2 separate regions of the Homo sapiens genome follow, and region 2 is linked to region 1. Evidence: promoter capture Hi-C in human tissues and cell types (Jung and others, 2019). All regions are on one chromosome and are shown on one strand. Each heading gives the region's core, a stretch centred on a gene start or on the middle of the fragment in contact. The rest is flanking DNA. Distances are from core to core; before and after follow the strand shown. Region 1 holds the start of KIAA0319L (KIAA0319 like). Region 2 holds the start of AGO4 (argonaute RISC component 4).

What was found. Contacts are between HindIII fragments. The study calls those that stand out against the background at their distance.
Region 2: a contact is called between the fragment with the promoter of AGO4 here and the fragment with the promoter of KIAA0319L in region 1, in 2 of the 25 tissues and cell types used here (adrenal gland and mesenchymal stem cells).

Annotation. Positions count from the first base shown.
Region 1 is chr1:35,555,132-35,560,266 of GRCh38, reverse strand. KIAA0319L (KIAA0319 like) reads left to right here and starts at 2,864. Exons shown (of 21, transcript NM_024874.5): 1 at 2,864-3,060. NCDN (neurochondrin) reads right to left here and starts at 2,468. Exons shown (of 7, transcript NM_014284.3): 1 at 2,044-2,468; 2 at 1,020-1,160. The coding sequence starts at 2,076. RefSeq lists enhancers at 1-70, 527-1,252, 2,631-2,690, 1,980-2,706, 2,707-3,434 and 1 more and silencers at 1,640-1,849, 2,921-3,060, 3,071-3,170. The HindIII fragment of the contact is 15,948 bases long and covers 1-5,135 here.
Region 2 is chr1:35,805,861-35,810,995 of GRCh38, reverse strand. AGO4 (argonaute RISC component 4) reads right to left here and starts at 2,980. Exons shown (of 18, transcript NM_017629.4): 1 at 2,561-2,980. The coding sequence starts at 2,579. It overlaps CLSPN-DT (CLSPN divergent transcript), which reads right to left. Exons shown (of 3, transcript NR_199050.1): 3 at 4,056-4,251. RefSeq lists enhancers at 1,928-2,207, 3,307-3,806 and silencers at 2,358-2,607, 2,888-3,097. The HindIII fragment of the contact is 21,017 bases long and covers 1-5,135 here.

The DNA.
Region 1 (5,135 bases), core at 1,615-4,114:
TCCTGCATCCTGGGGCACTGAGGACTAGCAAGATGAGGTTATGCAACAGGACTCATCTGAGGTCATTTCATCCAGCTCCTTTTTTCTCCTTAGAGGCAGATAAATGTGACCTCTGGGATCCCTCTCATCTGTGACTGTCCCATGGAAGTGAGGTCTAGTCTTCCTCAACCATTCATTTGAGCATTTCAACACCTGGCCAGTTGAGAAGTTCTTCCTGATGTCTAAATGCCCACAACCTGGGATGGAAGGGGCTTAGAACTCAATGTTTTAAGATCTCCCAAGGATTTAAAGTCCTTCCTTAATTGCTCCCTCCAGAGAAGTCCCTGATCCATTTCTGCCACCTTCTCAGGGGAAATGGCTCCTGTGTCTCGCCGCTCCGCCTGTCAAAACATTTCCCCTTACATTTCACCTAAACACCTCCTCTGCTGCAGTGTGAGCCCTTGACTCCAGAGCCTTCTCCTTGTTGCCATGGCAAACAAGCAGCGGCTGTACTCCCTCCTCCCTTCACCCCCCACACACAACCCCCCCTTCCTAGCACTGCAGCTTCTGCTCTGCTGTCCCCAGCTTGGGTTCCTCCAAAAAGGCTAAGCCCCAAACTAGCTCCCATTCCTTAACCTACCTACTGCCATCCTGGCCTTCCCCTAGGACCCCTCCCCAGCCACTTCCAGCCCTGCTACTCTCTCCAGGCCCAGAACAACCATCCCCAGCCCTCAAGTACTCTGCACTAGTTACTACCTGCTGCTGTTACCCTATGAGTCAGCTTCCATCTGCTCTGGGACGCCCCAGAAAACAGACCCAGGCAGCCCCTAGTGCCACAGCCTTATTCAGTCCCATTCTCCTCTTTGCCCCCATTCTCAGGGGGAGCAAAAAAGAGCACAAAGGTAGGGGTCTTGGGCCTTCGTTGGTGCCTCCAGGGTTGCTAGCACTACGTACATATCCTTGGGGACTCACTGACCCCATTCCTTGGGGGCCCAACCACCCAGCCCTTCCCACCTCCCAATTTTCAGCCAGTTCCTTACTAGCAGCAGGGCTGCAAACTGCTCGCTGTCATTCTTGGCCTCACGGAGGGCTCCCAGGTAGCGCTCCAGGGTGGGGTTTCGGCCCTCTGCCTGGTTCAGAGCTGGCTCGCAATCCGAGGCCATGATGCTCGCCTTGCCCAACTGTGAACACAAGAGGGACTGAGCATCCCTCTGCAGAGGAGGGACGGGGGTGGGGTGGGGGTGAGAGTGGAGGATGGAGGGAGGGAGGGATTAGCACAGAGGGAGGGGAGGAGAGAATCTGGAGGGGTGGACTCCTCAGGACTGACCTCCCCCCAGAAGCCCCTTTAAGGGGCTGGATCTGCAAATCCTTAGGGATAAAGAAGGGACCCTGGTCCAAGGTCACCTCCAGAAAGCGGGAAAGAAGGACCATGCATGCTGCTGCTCAGCCGGACAGCTCTCCTCACCAGTCTCCTGGGGGTGGGCGGGAGCTGGCCCCACTGCTCAGCTGTCCCCCTGGCACCGGAGGCTGGGTTTTATCTCCCTCCACAGGGACACAGAGGGAGTGAGTGGTGAGGACAGACAGGGAGAAATGGAGACATACATGGGTGAAGTTCGATTATCCGGACTCAGGCTGACATGGGAGAAAAGGACACCCCAGGCTTCCTTTCCCCTCCCTTCTTCAGAGGCAGAGATACGCTTCAGAAGTGAGAATACAAGACGCTCAACAGGGAAGGCTTGGAGGCCCCTTTGGGGACCCCACCCCTCCAGCCAGGGCTCTCAGTCGCCCCCGCAGGCTCCTTGCCTCCTCTCCTTTCCCTCCCTCGGGTAGAGGCTGCAGCAGCAGCAGCAGCGGCGGCGGCAGCAGCAGAATTAACCCCTTGCGCTCCCTCTTCTCGCCCTCCCCGTCCCGCTACCAGCCTGTGGATGCCGGCAGGGGCTGGAGAAGCAAGAGGGGGTCCCGGATAGTTCCCAGGACAACGGAGAATCCAAAAGCCGGATAATCGAAGCAGGGCTGCTGAGATGGGGAGATGAGAAGGGGAGGAGGGTTCCTGGCGGTCACCACCTGTCCCGCCGCAGCCAGGTCACAACACGACATTGATGAAGTCACGACAGGGCGGCGATGAGATCACACTTCACGATGGCGCGGTGATGTCACGGAGAGATCACGTCAAAATCACGACATGGGAGACAGCCCCCAAAGATGACAGGGCAAATTAAAAAAAAAAAAGATATATATTGAAAAGGGCTGTGACAAAATGGAGTCTCGACAGGGCACGATGGTGTCGCGATATGGCGCGATGGAGTCGCGATAGGGTCCCCGGGGTGTGTCGGCATCGATCAGCGCCGGCTCGGAGAGGCCCCGGCTGGGATGCAGGGGAGGGCCCGAAGGGGGCTGAGCTCACCAGGCTGCGGCCCCGAGCGGCGAAGTCTTCTCCCAGCGCGATGCTCCGGGAGCCTCGGGCCGCTGCTCACGCCGCGTTGCCCACTCCTGGCTCCAGGCTGCTGCAGCTCCACCCCCACCCCCGCACCGCTCTTGACGAATCCGCGGCTGCTTCACTCCGGGCTCTGGCCAATGGCAAGTCAGGGTGCTAAGCAGTAGGGGGTGCCGCCGTTGCCGCCATCTTGCTTGTGGGTATTGCCCGAGTCTGGGGGCTGGGGCTCGAGCGAAGGAGGCAAGGTGCAGACTGCCTCTGGAGAGCGGGCGGCGAGAGGCTGGGGGCCCAGATTCCTTCGCTTGTGCGTAGTTTTACCCGCCCAGCACTGCCCCTCCTCCCCCTTGGTCTCGCGGCCGGCATTGCCCTTCCCGGGGGAGGGGCGGGAGGGCTTGGTTAGCATGGAGAGTGTGTTTCCGGGTCGGTCCCGGGGAGGTGGGAGGAGGCGGTGTTTCCGGCCGCCGTCGCTGTCCAGGGAGGCTGAGGCGAGAGGTAGCTGTCCGGGTGGGGAGCCCGCACTACCTTCTTCCTCTTCCTCCTCCTCCTCCGGGTGAGGGGAGCGAAGGTTGGGGGTCCCCGAGCCCATGGACCAGGAGGAGGCGGAGGCCGCCGAGAGCCGGGGCCCCGCTATGTGGCCCTGAGCCCCGGTAGGTGGCCGGGGGCGGCTGGCTGCCAGGCCGAGGACCATGGGCTCAGGGGAGGGGCAAGCGGGACGGGCGATGTCAGCGGCTGCGCTGGCCGGATGTTGGGTCCGGAGGTGGCGCCCCTGGCTCGGCCAGGGCAGCCAGCTGCTTCTGTCCTTGCAGGTGCGCAGCTTGGGTCCCAGGCTGAACCCCGCTTCTCTCGGGCCTGGGCCTAGTCATGCAGCTCCCTCCATCCCCTGAGAGCCAGGCAGACAGCCGGGGTTCGGGGCGCTGCCGTCCTTCTTCCACCTTCGACCTCTGCAGCCTAGTCTTTAGTTGCTGTCTCTGATGTTTGGTCTCTCCACCGAGATAGAAAGTTGGTGCAGAATGAAGAGGGGATGGGGTTGAGCACGATGTGTCCATTATAATGTGAAACCTGCCTCATCCACGATTTTGAAAATTATGCCCCACAGAGGGTCCTGTAGTGGCTGCAGTGAGCACAAAGGTGAAATGAAGGAAGTCAAAATTGATAACCTCTGGCGGGATTCCAGGAACTCTTTGGCTTCTGGTCTCATAGTGGTTGTGTCCAACTGACAGTAGTTGCAGTTAGTGAAGAGCATTAGCTGACTCTCCTTGTGCTCTCTCCTGTGATTAACAGACTGAAAACTAGGAACAAATTGGAAAGACGACCTCCCAGAACAATCTGTTCATTTTTCCAGCTATTTGGAAAACAGTGTCTGCAAATATAAGCAAAGCTATTCATGGCAGTCTGTTCTGTAACTTTCCCAAATATCTGAGACTTTTTAAAAAAGAGCTTTATTCTCGATTACTCATACCAACTGAATAGATTGTTTCAGACGTGCTCCATCGTTGTTCAAACATATCTTATCGCTGTGTACATAAATGGAGTTCCACGTATGTAGTTGACAGACTGAACTGTGATACATCCCCCATCAACCTGAAGTATTAAGTAAACATTACCCCCTGCTCTGTCTGAACAGCTGCTGCAACAGAGAGTGCTTTTATTTTGGGTGTACTTGTAACGCCCTAAATGCCAGAACTATTGTGAGCTTCTCTAGATTTTCATTTGTCAAGTATTGTGGGGGTGTGTGTTCTCTCCCTGGGTTGTTACCCTTTGATTCAGTAACAAACTATTCGGATCTTGGTGATGTGTTGTTGTTCTTGCGTTTGGTCAGCAAGCCTTTAACTGGACCCTAGCAGTGATTTGTGCCCTTAGGCAATTATAGGTTTCAGAGGAATGACTGGTTAGGAGTTCAAATGAAATTAACTCTGCCTTTCTCTTAGACGCAAGATTTATTAGACATGGCACTTCTAATCAGCTTGTTAGTCCAGTGGTGTTTATTACTCCATTTTTCAAAAGCTATTCATTTCTTTTCTGCTTCTCCCACCCACCTGTCAGGCTATTGATGACAGCTGTTGAGTCACCTTGAGTTTTAAATCCTTTTGTGGTAGGCAGAAATGTGTTGGGTAAGATTCATACACACCCATACATGCACACATGCATACTCACTCGTTCCCTCTTGGGAGGCTAGAGAAATTGCTGGATGTACTTTCTAACTTAGGCTCCATTTCATAATCTCTTGAACATGTCTCTGGCCCACACACCTCCTTTCTGCCCCCTGCTCCCTGAAATACAACTACAAAACAACTAGAAATAGGAATGGATGGAAGTGAATGAGAACGATGAAGTCCTTCAGATGCATGTGGTTCTGCAAAAGCCTTTTCTTGGGTGGGCTGCACCTTAGTTTTGCAGCTGTGTGTATGTCTGTGGCTGTTTCTTGGTATTAGTCAGTATTGGTATCCAGCCCAGGCAATGCTGATCTCCCTGTATGCTGGCCGTGGATAGGAGTTAGGGGTTGGCAGCCTGTGTCGTTTGCTGGATGTAGATGACAGGTACATAGTTGGACAGAAGTTTTTGAATTGCTTCTTCAGAACTCAGTCAACCCTCATAATGTTGCCAATATTTACGTACTAATTTAGACAATATAGCAAAGTTTTATATGAGGGGAGAAATTTATGGTAAATGAGTTTTTCTGCTGGAAGAGACCTAAATAATCCAGCCCCTAGATTCTGGAGTA
Region 2 (5,135 bases), core at 1,731-4,230, 250 kb before region 1:
TTTAGCCAGCTAATTTTTATATTTTTAGTAGAGACGGAGTTTCACCATGCTGGCCAGGCTGGTCTCGAACTCCTGGCCGCAAATGATCCGCCCACCTCAACCTCCCAAAGTGCTGGGATTACAGGCATGAACCACCACAGTTTTATTTTCAGGGTATCCCAAAAATGTGGTGACAAAGTCAGATAACTGCATTCTCTGAAAGGGCAACTGATATGACAACATAGAACAGATGAAGTCAGCCTTAATGAAGAGGAGATGATTAGATTAGAAGTCAAATGACCCAAACTCAGGTCTTTATTTCACCACTTGACCCTTTGAAACCCTAATGAAGTCACTTCATCCTCTCTGAACCTCACTTTTCTCATCTGTAAAATGGAATAACTACCTGCCCTGCCTACCTCCCAGAGGATCAAATGAGCTAATAGTCATAAAAGCACTTTACAAACTATAAAGTACTGCAAACAACATATTACCAAAATAAGTGGAAATCTAATTAATTATATTTCTGAGTATTGGCAGAAACTGAACTAGGTTGCAGGGAGGCGGTGGGCAGGGAGGGATAGAACAAGACTAGAAGGCTTCAGGGACTGTTCAAGTGAGGAGGGCACAAAGCACTAGATCCAGGTGTGCTCTGCCAAAGAAGCAGGGATGATTCTCTAGGTTCTAAAACAGCCTGGATGAATCATCCCACAAGACGATCAACTCCCTTTGCTCTGATTCTATGCTTAGCAGGCAGCTACTTATTAGTTGGGTTTCCAAGGTACTGCAACACCAAAAAAGGAGTTTGCTAGAGAGCAGACAGGAAAATATTCCACTCAACAGAAAAGATCCATGTGACATTTTGGCTTATTCATTAGTGTCTTATAAATGTGGTTAGTGAGAATTAATTTTCCACAATCTGAACAATCCTGAGTGAACCACTAAGTCCTCAAACCTGCAAAAGCTAAAATCAAAACAAAAAAAAAAAAGAGTCCCTGGGCAGTGCCTAATATCACCAGGTTGATCCTTTCCATGAAATTCAGTTTATGCCCACAGTTACACAATTTCTTTCGATATCAGATCATAAATGCAACAGTTGTTTCAATTATGAATTACTAGGGGGAGGGAAGAAACATCTGTTGAGCATCTATAGGCACTAGTCTCTACAATAAGACTTATCATATACTCTCATTTCATTCTCTCAACAATCTTACAGAACATACTTATTATTACCCTCAATTTATAGACGAGAAAATGAAAGTTCAAAGGAATTGAGTAATTTTCCCAGGGTCATACAACTATTACATTACTAGATTGAATCTGTTACATTCCTAAAGACCTGAGCATGTCTTTAGCCAGGGGACATATCTGAAGTTAACCTGGCATAATACACTGAAGTTTATCAAACAATATTAATGCGGCAAGCCAATTTATTTTTAAAAGGCATATGAAATTTGATTATGAGGGCCTTTAAACAATACTTTAAGAAGCAAATTAGGGTGGGGCTTAATCACTCAGCTATGCAAACAAGTGCTAAGTAAACAAACGTGCCAAGTTTCCAAACTCAAATGGCAACTCGAATTTTCTACGCACTAAAAAGATGAAACACTCTACGACTAAGTTCATTATGTAGGTAAAGTTTGAATATTAAAGTGAATTCCACCACAGCCCCTAAACACTGAGCTACTTAGCCAAGGCATTAGAAACCTGTTGGGCTTTGAGGTGGAAGCACCAGGCCCCAATACTCAGGACACTTGTTACAGCCTGGAATGGTTCTTCTGGTTTGGATAGAGAGAAATAACCAGAGGCCATCCATATCCACAACAAATTAGTTTCCAAAGCACTTTCTCCTTCATTTGATCCTCACAACCACTCATAACCCAATTAGAAGAGAACTCAGGGCATTGAAGCCTGTGGTGGAGCAGACTGACTGGCAACTCCTGTGTCACTCAAAGGCTGGCTCAGACCACTCTGAGACTAACACACAGACTGAGTGACAGAGGCACAGGACCATGTTCTTTGGGACATCAGGGCCTTTCAGAAAGGGTGGGCATTTTGTCCCTTGACCTTCAGAGATCATGAGAGGTGTTTGGATGAAGTTCTTCTTCCTCATCTGAAGGCTCTGGACCATCTGCCAGTGCAAAGAAAAATAGGGGCGCGGCCCCAAACCAGGACTACCGGCTGGTAGTAGGCAGCGGGGCCCTTTTCCCGGTCTGGGCCAGGCCTCCGCGCGCACTGGGTAGCGGATCGCCCCCTTCTGAGGCCCAAACTACCCTCGTCGCGACCCCGGGCACATATCGTCTCCCCGAGGTGGGGCCAAGAGTGGCCTCCGCCCGGCAGCGCCGGTCACCTTCCCGAACCTCCCCCCTGGACCTCGGGATCCACCCAACGGCCGGCTGGGGCGCGGTCACCGCCCCCCAGGCCCGGGTCAGCTCCCTCCGCTTCGTGCTGCGGGGCTCGGGTCCCCTTCCCCGAGGCCTGGCGGCCCGAACCCGGCGAGGCGACGGGGCAGCGAAAGTCCCGGCCGCCCGCCCCGGGTCCCGGGTCCCGGGTCCCGCCCCGACCCGAGCTCGCTCCTCACCGGGTCCCAGCGCCTCCATGGCGGCGGCGGGGGCCGCCTCGCCCCGGTCCCCGGCGCCTCCCGCTCCGGGCCCCGCCGCCGCCGCCGCCGCCGCCGCGTAACGCTTGATCTCCGGAATATTGGCGCTGGGGTGGCGCCGCGGAGACGCGGGCGCTGGGCAGGGGGCGGCGGCGGCGCCCGGCCCGGGGACAGGGACCCGGCTCCGGCTCTTCCGGCCTCAGCGACAACAAAAACAATCCCCGCCGCCGCCGCCGCCGCCGCCGCCAACGGGAGCGGGAGCGGGAGCCAGCGCGCGCGCCCGCCGGGAGGGAAGGGGGCGCGGGGTGCGCGGACCCAGGGTCCCGGCGGGCGGAGGGGGCGTGCGCGGCCCCGGGCGCGGGGTCCACAGAGCCCGGCAGGCGGCGAGGCGGGTCGGGGAACGAGCGCGCGCCCGGAGGGTGCAGAGCCCGGTGGACGTGTCGGGCACGCGCCCGCTGGCCCGCTCTGCCCCGTCCACCCGAGGAGGCCGTCCGGTGGCCAACGGCTCTGGGGGCTACGTGCCATCCCCCCAGGGCGTCCTGCAAAAGATCTGGATTCCAGTTCCGCTGACCCACAGATTCAGTTTTCCACTTCTGTGAGTGGAAAGTGTACTGAGATTCACAGGAGCCACCTCGCCTCCCTCCTCCCTCCTCCCACCCCAGATCGCTTCTGTCATCTCGTCTTTTAGGGTCACCTTAGACGCTAGCAGTCCTCCTTCATCCCTTCATTCAGCACCACACACCCAACTGCGCGTCCCTCTCCGTATAGCCGGAAGGCACCACGGGAATGGACCCTGATGAATGATGCATTCCCTCCCTGGTCCCATGACAAGCGCCTCTGGTCAGCAAATCACCAGTCACTTTAGAAGAGAAAGGTCTTGGCCGGGCGTGGTGGCTCACGCCTGTAATACCAGCACTTTGGGAGGCGGAGGCGGGTGGATCACCTGGGGTCAGGAGTTTGAGACCATCCTGGCCAACATGGCGGAAGCCCATCTCTACTAAAAACACAAAAAATTAGCCGGGCGTGGAGGCAGGCGCCTGTAATCCCAGCTACTTGGGAGGCTGAGGCAGGAGAATCGCTTGAACCCGGGAGGCAGAGGTTTCAGTGAGCCGAAATCGGGCCACTGCACTCCAGCCTGGGCGACAGAGCAAGACTGTCTGAAAAAAAAAAAATAAAAATAAAAGAGAGAGAGAGAGAGAAAGGTCTTGCTTTCTTGGATGCCTTCCCCTTAGCAGACAAAAGCCAAGGGAGCAGCACCACCTCCAAGGCAGCATGGTCAGCCCAGCAGGCACAGCATCTTTAGGGCTTTCAGTAAGGACTTTGAGTGGGAGAACACTGGACAACAGGCCAAGAAGCAGTTTCTAGTCAGCAGAAGGAAGGAGCCCCTTGTCCACCAATTGAAAAGGTACGATGAGTTTGTGTGTGTGTGTTGTATTCCTTTGCTACGGCATAACGTAACAAAGTACCACAGACTGGGTGGCTTAAACAACAGAAATTTATTTTCTCACAATTCTGGAGGCTGGCAGTCAGAGATACGATGTAGGCAGGGTTGGTTCCTTCTGAGGCCTATCTCCTTCACTTGGTAGATAGTGGCCTTCTCCCAGTGACTTCACGTGGTCTTCCCTCTGTGCACGTCTGTGTCCAAATTTCCTCTTCTTATAAGGACAGCAGTCCTATTAGAGTAGGGCTCACTCTAGTGACCTCGTTTTAATTTAATTACCTCTTCAGAGACCCTGTTTCCAATTACAGTCACATCCTGGGGTGCTAGAGTTAGGACTTCAATATACAAATTATTGGGGTGGGGGATAATTTAGGCCCCTAGCATGTGTGGTGGGATATTCATTTGAGCACCTGCCATGTGCTGTCACAGAGCCAGGTAGTTTTTTTATGTAATGATAAAAAATATTAGCATCACATCCTGGCCATGCACTCTGCTATGGGCTTCTCATTGTCACTCAATCTTTACAACCACCAGTAAGGTAGATATTGTTAAGAAAGGTATTTGTACAGATGATGACACCGAAGCTCAGGGAAGTTAAGTAAGTCGGGCTTTGCATTACATGATGCTGAAGTGAAGCATGGGAAAAATTGGAGTTCAAATCTTGCATTTAAGTCCTGGCTAATTCTCTCCCTGATTGGCTATGGAACTAGGACTTTTATTTTTTTATTTTTTATTTTTTGAGACGGAGTCTCGCTCTGTCGCCCAGGCTGGAGTGCAGTGGCGCCATCTCGGCTCACTGCAAGCTCCGCCTCCCGGGTTCACGCCATTCTCCTGCCTCAGCCTCCCAAGTAGCTGGGACTACAGGCGCCCGCTACCACGCCCGGCTAAATTTTTTTTTGTATTTTTAGTAGAGACGGGGTTTCACCGTGTTAGCCAAAATGGTCTCGATCTCCTGACCTTGTGATCCGCCCGCCTCAGCCTCCCAAAGTGCTGGGATTACGAGCTTGAGCCACCGCGCCCGGCCGGAACTGGGACTTTTAATCTAGTGCCTACATTCTTGTCTACTGATACCATACCCTATATTCTTTTATTTTTTTTGACCCGGAGTCTCGCTCT